Regions from separate parts of the Homo sapiens genome. Here region 2 is linked to region 1. Evidence: promoter capture Hi-C in 16 types of primary human blood cells and fetal thymus (Javierre and others, 2016). All regions are on one chromosome and are shown on one strand. Each heading gives the region's core, a stretch centred on a gene start or on the middle of the fragment in contact. The rest is flanking DNA. Distances are from core to core; before and after follow the strand shown.

The links. Contacts are between HindIII fragments. The CHiCAGO score rates a contact against its expected background, and 5 or more counts as called.
Region 2: a fragment that was not itself captured here is called in contact with the fragment with the promoter of POLR1B in region 1 in 6 of 17 cell types (fetal thymus, total B cells, naive B cells and 3 more); the score reaches 9.0 in fetal thymus.

The regions. Positions count from the first base shown.
Region 1 is chr2:112,537,269-112,543,912 of GRCh38, reverse strand. It overlaps POLR1B (RNA polymerase I subunit B), which reads right to left and starts at 1,448. Exons shown (of 15, transcript NM_019014.6): 1 at 1,242-1,448. The coding sequence starts at 1,418. It overlaps TTL (tubulin tyrosine ligase), which reads right to left. Exons shown (of 7, transcript NM_153712.5): 7 at 2,174-6,644. LOC105373562 (a long non-coding RNA gene) reads left to right here and starts at 1,701. Exons shown (of 2, transcript NR_136321.1): 1 at 1,701-1,710; 2 at 1,835-2,257. RefSeq lists an enhancer at 1,416-1,565. The HindIII fragment of the contact is 8,470 bases long and covers 665-6,644 here.
Region 2 is chr2:112,259,227-112,265,339 of GRCh38, reverse strand. No RefSeq gene overlaps it. Among named protein-coding and RNA genes, the nearest start is that of ZC3H8, 7.2 kb to the right of the region's middle. The HindIII fragment of the contact is 4,833 bases long and covers 922-5,754 here.

The DNA.
Region 1 (6,644 bases), core at 199-2,698:
GGGGTTTCACTATGTTATCCAAGCTGGTCTTGAAATCCTGGGCTCAAGTCATCCTTCTGCCTTGGCCTCCCAAAGTCCTGGATTACAGGTGTGAGCCACTGCACCCAGCCCGATTAACTTTTAATTAGGAATTTTTTCTCACAGACATGATACTGTAACAATCCAGGCACAATACAAATAACCCCCACCCCTCTAGTCTTTCTAAACAATAAATCTTAATGGCTCCCATATTATTTGCCGAATAGAGTTCAAGAATCAGACTGGCAATCAAAGCTCTCCACATTATCTGTATCCCTATCTCCCACAACACAAATCTTACCCAACAAAACCACAGGTAGGGTCCCCGAAGCATGTGACTCTGCTCTACTCTTCCCCTGGACGAAATGCACGTTTCTCACTTCTTGAACTCATCTAATCCTGCCCTTTCTCAAACTCCTGGATTAGTTGCGCCGCCCATAGGCTCCCGCAGTAGCCCACACAATCCCTTGGCAGAGCAGTTCTCAAGAACATTGGCATGCACTGCTTTCATTATCTTCACCCCTTCAACCCCCAAACACGACAGGGAGCACTTAAATGCATGAACTGTCTCGTACACGGGACTGCCTCCTCCACATCCTCTGAGCCTAGTGCCTGGAGACACTGGGGATGCTTACTAAACGAAGCTTTCCCCCACCATACTCACTTGAATTCTGCTACCATTACTCTACGCTAATAATGCAATTACACTTTTCGATTCAATCTTGCTTTCATGACTCATTTATACCTTCCTCGGCACCTGCTTAATTCATAACAAATGACGAGTAGTTTCTCTCTTTAAAGCTCTAAGAGAAGGAAACTGAAGGATAACCTTGAACATTACACTGTACCTACAAATACGTTCGGGATCTTTCGAGGTACGTTTTGGAGAGGTAAGTCTTCAAGTGATATAAAGCCGTGTGCATTGTGAAGCACATCCCCAGATAAGCCACTTCCTCACTCTCACAGCACCCCGAAACTGTCCAAACTACGGTTCACAATCACTTTTCACTCCAGAATCACGAATACATCTCTTAAGACGCCTCGACTCCAAGTCTCACGAAGGCCAGTACCGCGTCCTGTTTAACATGTTGTGCTCTCCCGCTTACCCACCAAGCCTGTCAGGATCAAGGAGCACATGCATCTGGGGTCATACTGTGACCTCCCAGCCACCTCCCTGGGATTGGCCTCGCCGCGGCAAGGGCGCCGGCGGACGCCGCGCTCACCTGCACCGCGAGGCCGAGACCCTCGTGCACAGCGTAGTTGAAGGACTCCACGTGCGCCCGCGTCAGCTCCTGCAACGCTGCCTTTTGCTGTTCCCGCGGGATTCCATAAGAGGGGTCAGTCAAGTGCTTTAGGCTAGGCCCGCTGGGCAGGTTCCGCCACCGGCTGCCAGGATCCATGTGGCCACCTGCACACCGGACGCCAGTCTCTCGGTACACGCCGGACGCCAGTCTCTCGGTACACGCCGGAAGTAGTGGCCGCAGTCCCGTTTCCGCAGCCTGCTGGGAAATGTAGTTCCCTCTCGTTCCACCCGCCCTAGGCCCTGCGGTTTCGGTTTCTCGGGGTCAACGTAGAACCAAAAACGTCGAGTGAACGGGCCGATTAAGGCCGTGTCCAGCCAGAGCGTGGCGGGCCCTCCCTTTCTCCCATATTCCGCCCCACTCATCTCCCCGCTCGCGAAAGATGCCGCAGGTGGAAACCCGCTCCCCGCCCAGTTGAGCATGTGACCTCTTTGGCTCTCATTGGCTCAGTCAATTAGGATCGGAGGAGAGCGGTCTTCTCAGGCTCTCTTCTGTTTCCCTTCACCTGTTCCCAGTCCCACGCTGATGCCGACCCTGGGGAGTCATCCGGCCAAAGTCGTTGCTTCAACGAAAAAGCGGATGCCGGGCCCCGGGCTGACTCTCTACCCAACTCCTAACTCGCGAGGCTCACCCCTGGGAAGCCAAGGAGTGGTCGGGCCCCGCTAACCTCGTCGCATCTTCCGGACTGGAGGCCTGGGGGAGGCCTGGGGAAGGAGGTGGGAGAGGAGTCGGGCGGTCCCGGATGGAGGGGATGGGGCAGCGGGGCGTCCAACTGGATTTACAGCCTGAATTTCTTTTGCGTTCCTGTGAGCCCCTTACCTCCCCAGAATACTGATTAATCAGGGAATGCCTGCTGGTTTTTCAACTTTATTGTGTTTGTGTTTAACAGCTATATTGCGTTATAACTGGCATACAATAAACCACACATTTAAAGTGTACGCGTTAAGTTTTGACCTATGTATACAACCATGCAGCCATCACCACAATTAAAACAATGAATTAAACCACCACTACCCAGTATCCTCCTGCCCCTGATAGTCCCTCCTTACTGTCAACTTCCCCTTTCCTAGTTCAGCTGGTACTTTTCATTCCTATATCACTTTTTATAAAAAATTCGAGCCGGGAGTCTGTTGCACAGGCTGGTCTTGAACTTCCGGCCTCTAGTGATCCTCTCGCCTTGCCTCCCTAAATGCTGGGATTACAGGCATGAGCCACCGCGCGCGCCCGGCCAACTGAGTAGTTGTAGTTCTTTATATAGCCTATACTAGTCCTTGTCAGATCCATGATTTGCAAATATTTTTCTCCCATTCTGTGGGTTTTTACTTTCTTGCTGGTGTCCTTTGAAGCAAAACGTTTTAATTTTGAAGTGTAGTTTTTTTCTTTTGTTGCCTGTCTTTTTATATCATATCTAAGACATCATTGTGTAATCCAAGGTCATGAGGATTTAAAAAAAAATTTATGGGTACATAATTAGCATATTTATGAGGTATATGAGATGTTTTCATATAGGCATACGATGTAATCATCACAGGAGGGTAGATGGGGTTTCCATCACCTCAAGCATTCATCATTTCTGTCATGAACATTCCAATTGTACTTCCTCAGTTATTTTTGAAGGTACAACAAATTATTGCTGACTGCAGTCACCCTGTTGTGCTATCAAATACTAGATATTTTTCAATCATGGGGATTTTCACCTATATTTTCTACTAAGAGTTTTGTAGTTTCAACTCTTACATTTAAGTCTTTGACTCATTCTGAGCTAATTTTTGTATATGGTGTGAGAAAGGCATATCACTTTATTCCTTTGCATGTGGATATCCAGTTGTCCTAACACCATTTGTTAAAAAGACTATTCTTTCCCTCATCAAATTGTCTTGGCCTCCTTGTCGAAAATCAGTTCACTATAGATGCAAGGGTTTATTTTTGACTCTCAGTTCTATTCTCTTGATCTGTATGTCTATCTACATTTATCTGTATATCTGTCTACAAACTACACAGATTTGATTAATACAGCTTTGTAATAAATTTTGAAATCAGGAAGTGCACATCCTCCAACTTTGTTCTTCTTTCTCCAGATTTATTTGATCCTTTGTATTTCAATATGGATTTTAGCGTCAGCTTAGCTTGTCAATTTCTTTCTCTTTTTTTTTTTTTTTTGTTTTTTGTTTTTTTGAGACAGAGTTTTGCTCTTGTTGCTGAGGATGGAGTGCAGTGGCATGATCTTGGCTCACTGCAACCTCTACCTCCTGCCTCAGCCTCCCAAATAGCTGAGATTACAGGCATGCACCACCATGCCTGGCTAATTTTGTATTTTTAATAGAGACAGGGTTTTACCATGTTGGCCAAGCTGGTCTTGAATTCCTGACCTCAAGTAATCCATCTGCCTTGGCCGCCCAAAGTGCTGGGATTACAGGTGTGAGCCACCACACCCGGCCCAGCTTGTCAATTTCTGCAAAGAAGGCTGAGATTCTTGATCAGGATTGTGTTCAATTGGTAGATCAATTTGGGGCCTATTTTCATCCTAACAATAATTATCTCCCAATCCATAAACATGGGATGTCTTTCCATTTATTTAGGTGTTCTTTAATTTCTTTCAGAGATGTTTTGTAGTATTTGGTGTAGAAATGAACTTTTGTTAAATTTATTCCTAAGTATTTCATTCTTTTTGGTGTTGATATAAATGGAATTGTTTTCTTAACTTCAAATTGTTTGTAATATGTAGAAATACCATTGAGTTTTGTATATTGATCTTGTGTCTGGCAATCTTGCTAAACTCTTTATTAGTTCTAACAGCGTAAGTGGATTTCTTAGGACTTTTTCTATATGGTATCTTGTCGTCTGCAAAGAGAGATCATCATACTTCTCCCTTTCCAATCTGAATGCGCAGTCTTCTTTCCTTCCTTTTGTCGAATTGCTCTGTCTAGAACATTTAATACAATGTTGAAGTGACAAGAATAAATATACTTGTTTTGTGCCTGATATTGGGAAGAAAGCTCCCAACTGGAGCTTTCACATCACCATTAATATGATGTAGGCTGTGGGTTTTTCCAAAGATGCTCTTTATCATGTTGAGGAAGTAATTTATTTCTAGTTTGTTGAAAGGTTTTTTCCAAGAAAGAGTGTTGTGTATTGCCAAATGCTTTTTCAGTGTATATTGAAATGATCATGTGCTTTTTGTCCTCTTTTTTCTATTAAAGTGGTATATTATATTAAGTAAATTTTGTATGTTAAAAAAACCTTGCATTCTTTCTTTTCCCCTTCTCAACGTTTATTTTAGAATCAGGGGGGTACATGTGCGAATTTGTTACAAAGGTATATTGGGTGATGCTGAGGTCTGGGGTATGGTTGAACCTGTCACCCAGGTAGCGAGCACAGTATCCAATAGGTAGTTTTCAATCTTTGCTCCCCTCCTTCTCTCCTGGCTCTAGTAGTCCCCAGTGTCTGCTGTTCCCATCTTTTTTTTTTTTTTTTTTTTTTTTAGACAGAGTCTCTGTCACCCAGGCTGGAGTGCAGTGGCGCAATCTCGGCTCACTGCAACCTCCGCCTTCCAGGTTCAAGTGATTCCCCTGCTTCAGCCTCCTGAGTAGCTGGGATTACAGGCGCCTGCTACCACGCCCGGCTAATTTTTTGTATTTTTAGTGGAGACGGGGTTTCACCATATTAGCCAGGATGGTCTTGATCTCCGGACCTCATGATCCGCCCGCCTTGGCCTCCCAAAGTGCTGGGATGACAGGCGTGAGCCACCGCGACTGGCCTCTTCCCAACTTTATGTCCATGTGTACCCAATGTTTAGCTCCCACTTTTTAATTTTTTTGAGACAGGACTTGCTCTGTCACCTAGGACAGAGAGCAGTTGTGCGATCTCTGCTCACTGCAACCTCCTCTTCTCAGGTTCAAGCGATTCTTGTGCCTCAGCCATCAGAGTAGCTGGGATTACAGGCATGCACCACCATGCCTGGCTAATTCTTGTATTTTTTATAGAGACCAGATTTAATCATGTTGCCCAGGCTGGACTCAAACTCCTGGCCTCATTTGATCTGCCCACCTTGGCCTCCTAAAAGTGCTGAGATTATAGGAGTGAGCCACCGTGCTCAGCCTAGCTTCCACTTACAAGAGAACATGAGTTATTCCAAACTTTGTAATCTTAGGATAAGTCCCACTTAGTCATAATGTATAATCCTTTTTCTATGTTGCTGGATTTGGTTTACTAGTATTTTGTTGAAGATTTTTTCCGTTTGTATTCCCAAGAGATTATTGGTCTGCTATTTGCTTTTCTTGTGACATCTTTGTCTGGTTTTGGTATCAGGGTATTAAGAGTGACCTCATAAAGTTGAGGACACTCTTCTCAATTGAGGAGTATTTTCTTCTCTTCTATTTTTTAGGAGACTCTATGAAATATTGGTGTTAATTCCTTACCATCTGGCTTACAATCTGGTCCTGGGCTTTTCCCTGTGGGAAGTTTTAAAAGAATTATTATTAGTCCAACCTCTTTACTTGTATATTTCTTCATTAATACAGAAATTAACAAAATTTGTTACTGATTTCTGATTTTATTCCAACATGGTCAGAGAACATATGTAGTATAATTTCAATTCTTTTAAATTTACTGAGACTTGTTTTATGGCCTAGCATGTGATCTACCCCAGAGAATGTTCCATGTGCACTTGAGAAGGATGTGTATTTTGCTGCTGTTGGGTGGAGTGCCTTGTAGATATTTGTCAAGTCTAGTTGGTTTATAGTGTTTTCTATTTTCTTGTTGATCTTCTGCCTAGTTGCTCTAGCTATTATTGAAATGGAGTTTTGAGGGTTCCAACTATTGTAGTTAAATTGTCTGTTTCTTCCTTCAATTCTCTAAGTTTTTATGTCATGTATCTTTAGGCTGTATTGCTAGGTACATATGTTTATAATTGTCATATTTTCCTAATGGACTGACCCTTTTATCAATATAAAATGTCCTTGGCATACAAGTGGCCAAGAAACATATGAGACAATGTTCATCATCACTAATCAACAGAGAAATGGAAATCACAACCACAATAAGATATCATCTCACGCCAGTCAGAATAGCTATATTAAAAAGTCAAAAAATAACAGATGCTGAAGAGGCTAAGGAAAAAAAGAGAATGCTTATACACTGCTGGCAGGAATGTAAATTGGTTGAACCACTGTGGAAAGAAGTTTGGAGATTTCTCAAAGAATTTAAAACAGAGCAGCTGGGCATGGTGGCTCATGCCTGTAATCCCAGCACTTTGGGAGGCTGAGGCAGGTCGATCACCTGAGGTCAGGAGTTCAAGACCAGCCTAGCCAACATGGTGAAACCCTG
Region 2 (6,113 bases), core at 2,089-4,588, 280 kb after region 1:
AGTTTCTTGTGGAGAATACACAGCTGGATCATATTTATCCATTCTGACAATCTCTTTGTTTTATTTGGTAAATTTATCCCACTTGCATCCAATGTACCTATTAATATGTTTGATTTTAAGTCTATCTTTAACATTTTTTTTATTCATTCTCTTGTTGCTCTTCCATTTTTTTCTTTTCTGCTTTAACATTTTGGGATATTCCATATTTGATTTACTTATTGTGTCTTTGAATATTCATTGAGTTTTTAATTTTAGTTTTTATATTTTTCAGTTCTCAAAATTCCATTTGGTTCTTCTTTATGTCTTCTCTTTTTTTACTGAGATGCTCTACTTTTTCCATTTGTTTCAAGGGCATTTAGTGTAGCGTTTTTATAAAAAGCTGTTTCAAAGTCTGTCAGATAATTCCAATATATAAGTCATCACAGCTTTGGCATTTGTTGATTGTCTTTTCCCAGGCAATTTGAGATTTTCCTGGTTCTTTGTATGCCAAATAAGTTTGAATTGTATCCTGGAGATTCTGAATAATAATATGCTATAAAACCTCTGGATCTTAGTTAAATCTTATGCAGAATGTTTATATTTTTGTTTTTATTGGTAATAGACCCGGTTAGGTTCAGGCCTCGATTTCTAACCCACTGCGATTCCAGTGCCTGTTCAACTGGATGCCTTTGCAATGTTATTTGAATCTTAGATCTGTACTACCAGGGACCAGTCAGGACATGGATGAATTATGTCTATTCAACTCTCAAAAGTCTTTGGCATGCCAATTAGGATCAGATCCATGCATGGGCAACTATATGGTAAGCCCGGGGGTTCAGAAATTTATGATGTCATTTTTCTAGGCCCCTTCTTCATTATGGTCTCCTAGAAAATTTTTCAGGTCCCTGGAGCTTTATTTTTTGGTTGTCCAACCAGAAAGCTTGAGCTTCAGTTACCCCCACTTCTGCATACATTTGCAATTGTACCTATGTCTGGGCTTAGTGGCAGGAGGACCACAGAAAAAAGAAAATTAAAAACTTAACGCTATTTCAGTGGTACTTTGAATTGTCATCTTCTTCACCAATCTGCCTGCGTTAATTACTTTCTAGAGTCTTCAAGCAATTCCGTGCATCCTATCTAGGTAAACCTATATTCAGGGACTATAATGTGCTTTTACTATGTTACCTAGAACCAGAAATCCCATCATATATAAACTTTAACTACCAAATACCTTAGTAATATTGTTCTATTCACTAAATATTTACTTAGAATGATCAGTTTCTTCATTGTCCATTTTTTTCTTATAACTCAAACCTGCACCTGAGATTTGCTGCTATCAAATTCATTCTTTCTAATTTCTAAATTTATTCAGAATCTCCTAAATAATTTGCTCATAGTGACCTCTCTGTTTTTGTTTTCCTAAATACATCTTATAGCTCACCTCCATTTTTGAATAATATTGTTTCAAGGTATAGAATCCTAGTTCAGAAGTTTTATTTTCTTTCAATTTATTGAAGATATAATTTTATTGTCTTCTGGATTCCCTTGTTGCAGCTGTGAAGACAGCTGGCAGTCTAATTGTCATTATTCTGAAGGTAAACTTTTAAAACTTTTCTGTGGCTATTTTACATATTTTCTCTGCTTTTCTGTAGTTTCAGTATGGTGTGTCTTAGTATGGATTTCTTTTAGTTATCCTGCCTAGTATTTGTTTAATGCTTGATCTGTAAATTGCTGAGTTTCAACAATCTGGAAAAGTCTGTCTTTTCTTTTCTTTCTTTTTCTTTTTCTCTTTTCTTTTCTATTTTTTTTGAGACAGAGTCTCACTCTGTCACCCAGGCTGGAGTGCAGTGGCACAATCTTGGCTTACTGCAACCTCCGCCTCCTGGGTTCAAGTGATTCTCCTGCCTCAGCCTCCCGAGTAGCTGGGATTACAGGTGTGGGCCACCATGCCTGGCTATTGCGTATTTTTAGCAGAGACAGGGTTTCACCATGTTGGCCAGGCTGGTCTTGAACTCCTGACCTCAAGAGATCCACCTGCCTTGGCCTCCCAAAGTGCTGGGAATATAGACATGAACCACCACACCTGGCCAGCCTTTTCTTTTCAAATATGTCCTCCTCCTCTTTCTTTTTTTCTTCTCTTCTTATTATTAGTTATATGTTAGACATTTAAATCTATTATTTATGTTTTTATAATAATCTCTTTTGTAACTTCCCTTTTTTGGGTGGCAGTCTCTCTATGATGTACTCTGGATAATTTCTTCTGACTTATCTTCCAGTTCACTAATTTTCTTTTAAACCCTGTCTACTCTATTAAAGCCATCTTATTACTCAAAGTCTAATTGGATAATCAGAATCACTAGAAGATAAATAAATAGATAGATGACAGATGATAGCTAGCTAGATTTACAGGGATTTGACCTTATGCAATTGTGGGAGCTGTTTAAAACAGTCTGTAAAGCTCTTGTCTGATATTGGAGCTTCAGAGCTGCAAGGTGGGGCCAGGCACAGCGGCTTATGCCTATAATCCCAGTACTTTGGGAGGGTGAAGTAGGAGGATTGCTGAGGCCAGGAGTTTGAAACCAGTCTGGGCAACACAGTGAGACCCCATGGGAGTGCAGTGAGCTATAATTGTGCCACTGATGAAGCAAGACTTTGTCTAAAAAACTTTTAAGACCTGCAAGGCACATATTCAGGAAGGGAAGTTGGATGTAAAGTGGGGGAGAATGAAGACAATCTAGAATCCCTGAGCATAAACCCAGAACCTGTATTAATCTGCTCTACTTTAATGACGTAGGTGTTGTGCAGGAGACTCTTGAGCCCTTTATCGTGGAACTAAAGACATGCTTGGCCCAGAATTTAGAAAATCTGAAGGAGGATCTGGGGTGAGTTATATCAGGTCTTGTTGTTGTCCCATATCAACAAGGTAAACCAGTAAACAACAATGTGCATGAGTTGCAATAGCATCTTCTGCCCCTTCACTGACCTCCTGAATGTAAAAAGCAATATGGCTGCTGTTTTACCTCCACCTCCCAAATTTTATGCAAAATCTATCTTGTGGTCCACCCTAACTAGAAATATGCAGGATAAGAATCCTGGAAAACATGGGTTAGCCTACCTAAGATGACATGTTACAAAATCACCAAGTATACACTAAGATGACATATTACAAAATCATCGAGTATACACTTATTTTTTTTTGAGACAGAGTCTTGCTCTGTCACCAGGCTGGAGTGCAGTAGCGCGATATCGGCTCACTGCAACCTCTGCCTCCCGGGTTTAAGCGATTCCCCTGCCTCAGCTTCTTGAGTAGCTGGGACTACAGGAGCCTGCCACCACGCCTGGCTAATTTTTTGTATTTCAGCAGAGATGGGGTTTCACCATGTTGGCCAGGATAGTCTCCATCTCCTGACCTCGTGATTCGCCCACCTCGGCCTCCCAAAGTGCTGGGATTACAGGCATGAGCCACTGCGCCTGGCCCAAGTATACACTTTTTAACTAGGTACCTATAAATATCTCTTTAACCCATATTTAGTTTTCAGATAAAAGCAATAGCAAAGTCATGCCTCTGCCTAACATGATGCACCAATCCCCCATTCAACCAAAAACATGCTACCCATTTTCCCAAGAAAGGATAAAAAGTCCCTTTTTCACTTTTGGGTGATGTTCATTCTTCTTTGAATTCTTTTTTTAGCTCAGTCACATGCCTCCTTTTATATCCTATAACTTAAATAGAGATATAAAGTTAACTACTATTAACATATTTTGTGTTAGATGGTAGGGGAATAGTAGAAGGGAAAATTTTAAATATATGTGTGTGTGTGTCTATGTGTGTGTAATTCCACACACATATTTCCACAAATTTATATCAAATTAAGAATGATATATTCATAAATATTGCAATCATTTTTGCTACTGGTCATGTAGTTGGGAAGCAGCATCATTCGTCTGGGGTAATTCCTTAGGTTCATTGTCTCATGCCAAGGAAATCGAGGATTCGGACACACAAGGACGGAGTTTAAGAGCAGAAGTTTAATAGGTGAAAGAAAGAGAAAAGCTGCCTCATGCAGAGGAAGGGGTCCCCAACATTTCCAGGTTCAGGGAGAGATGTGGGTGGTTTTATAGATGAGCTTGAGGAGCTGGTATCTGATTTACATAGGGTGCAAAGGATTGGTTGGACCAGGTGCGCCATTTACATGGTGCTTGAAGAAGCTAGCAACCCCACCCTAATCTTTTATTATGCAGATAGGTTTGCTACCTGGCTGGTGCCATGTTGCCTGTTCCCTGACTGTACATGTGGTGACAAAGAAAAGGGAAGATGGAGCCTCCATGTTGGATATGCCTGGCTCCTAGGTAGCCCTTTTCTATTGGCACAGCTGCCAGCATTTACCTCTGCAAGGTTCTAGCTTGCTTTTCTACGTCTGCTGCTTGATTTTTCAGGCTGCTCTTTGTTAGAAATGATTTTGGAGCTGCTTTTTTATTAAAAGGGAAACCTTACTGAGGACTCGCTTGCCCTCACTAACAGCCTAAACAATTTCTTTTAAGCTCCTGTATCAGTTGCAGCTGATATTTGTACAACTACCTTCTGCTCCTACTCTTTGCCGTGTTCTCTTTGCTCTCCCAAGCTGGTCTTGACTCCTTGCTGGGCGTGAGGCAGGAGAATAGGGTCTGGAAGCAGGGAACTTAAGGCCAATTCGTGCTGAATCAAGGAAAAACACCAAGGTCTGGGGGCAGGGAATCTGAGGCCAATTCACGCTGACTTCCCAAAGCTGGATCAAAAGGAAAACACCTGGGTCTGGGGGAAGGGATCCTAAGGCCAATTACTGTAAATATCCTAAAGCTGAACCAAAAGGAACCCCCCCTTCCCATCTCCTCACACCAGAGTAGCAAAGGATCAAAGGCTACTCTCCCTACAACTCTCCCCCATCTACCACATCTCAGATGGAAAAGGAAAGTGCCCTGGATTGGCCGAGGGCCTGGCAGGGACCATCGCTTCATCTACATAGGGCACCAATTCACCTCAGCCTTTAATTAGCCAGAGACCAAATCCTTCATCTATAAGCACCTCAAAAGGAGTACTTAAAACCCAGAAAACTTTGCAACTGGGCCCTTGAGCTGCTTGCTCTGGCCCATTCCCACCCTGTGGAGTGCTTTCTCGCTTTAATACATTCCTGCTTTTGCTGCTTCGTCCCTGTGTTTCATTCCTTTGTTACTTTGTGCGTTTTGTCTAATTCTTTGTTGAAAACACCAAGGACCACCACAACTTACACTCAAGTGCCCTCCTGATAACAGGTGGATAACCCAAACCTTCATGCCTGAAGGGTTTGGGGCACTTTCAGTGCTGCCTGTGGTGGTGGTGTTTTCTATTAACTTTAATCATAGAGCATAGGATTACTTAGTCTCCCGCCCAGGAAATCAGCTGCATCCTAGACATACTCTTCCTTAACATCATTATGTAGTCAGGATAACTTGATAGTTAGGATTAATCACCCCTGCCAATACAGTAAGCCCCTTCTTTACCTGTTAATTCACTGGCATGAGGATCCTAAGGTGGCCAAACGGCAGTCTCAACCTCAAGTTTAATGGACTCATTGTCACGCCCCTTGATGCAAACATTCCTACTTTTGGGATTAACGCTACACCGGTGGTTCTCAAGTGAGGACGATTTTGCTCCCCGCAGAGGACATTTGGCAATGTCTGGAGACATTTTGGGTTGCCACAACTGGGGAACAGCTGCTACTGACACCTAGCGGCAGAGGCCAGGGATGCTGCCAAGCTTCCTACAATGCGCAAGACCGTCCCCAATTATCCAGGCCGAAATGACAATAATGTTACGGTTGAAAAAGTCTGCTCTAAACCAGCAGAGCCCAAAGTTGTGGAGATAGGCAGCAAACATTATTCTAGGGCATCACTAGGAATAATACAGAGAGGACCTACTCCCACTTGGAAGCCTTGATTCCCAGACCCTGTGTATACTGGCTATGGGAGAAACAGCACCATGTATTGGTGATTGTTGATTTATAGCACATACTCATAAGGTATTATATCTAGCTCATACTGGAGCTGAGTTATCACAGGCCATTTCACCATTTTAACATGCCAACTGCTTTATTTTATTTTGGTAAAAGAAATATAAA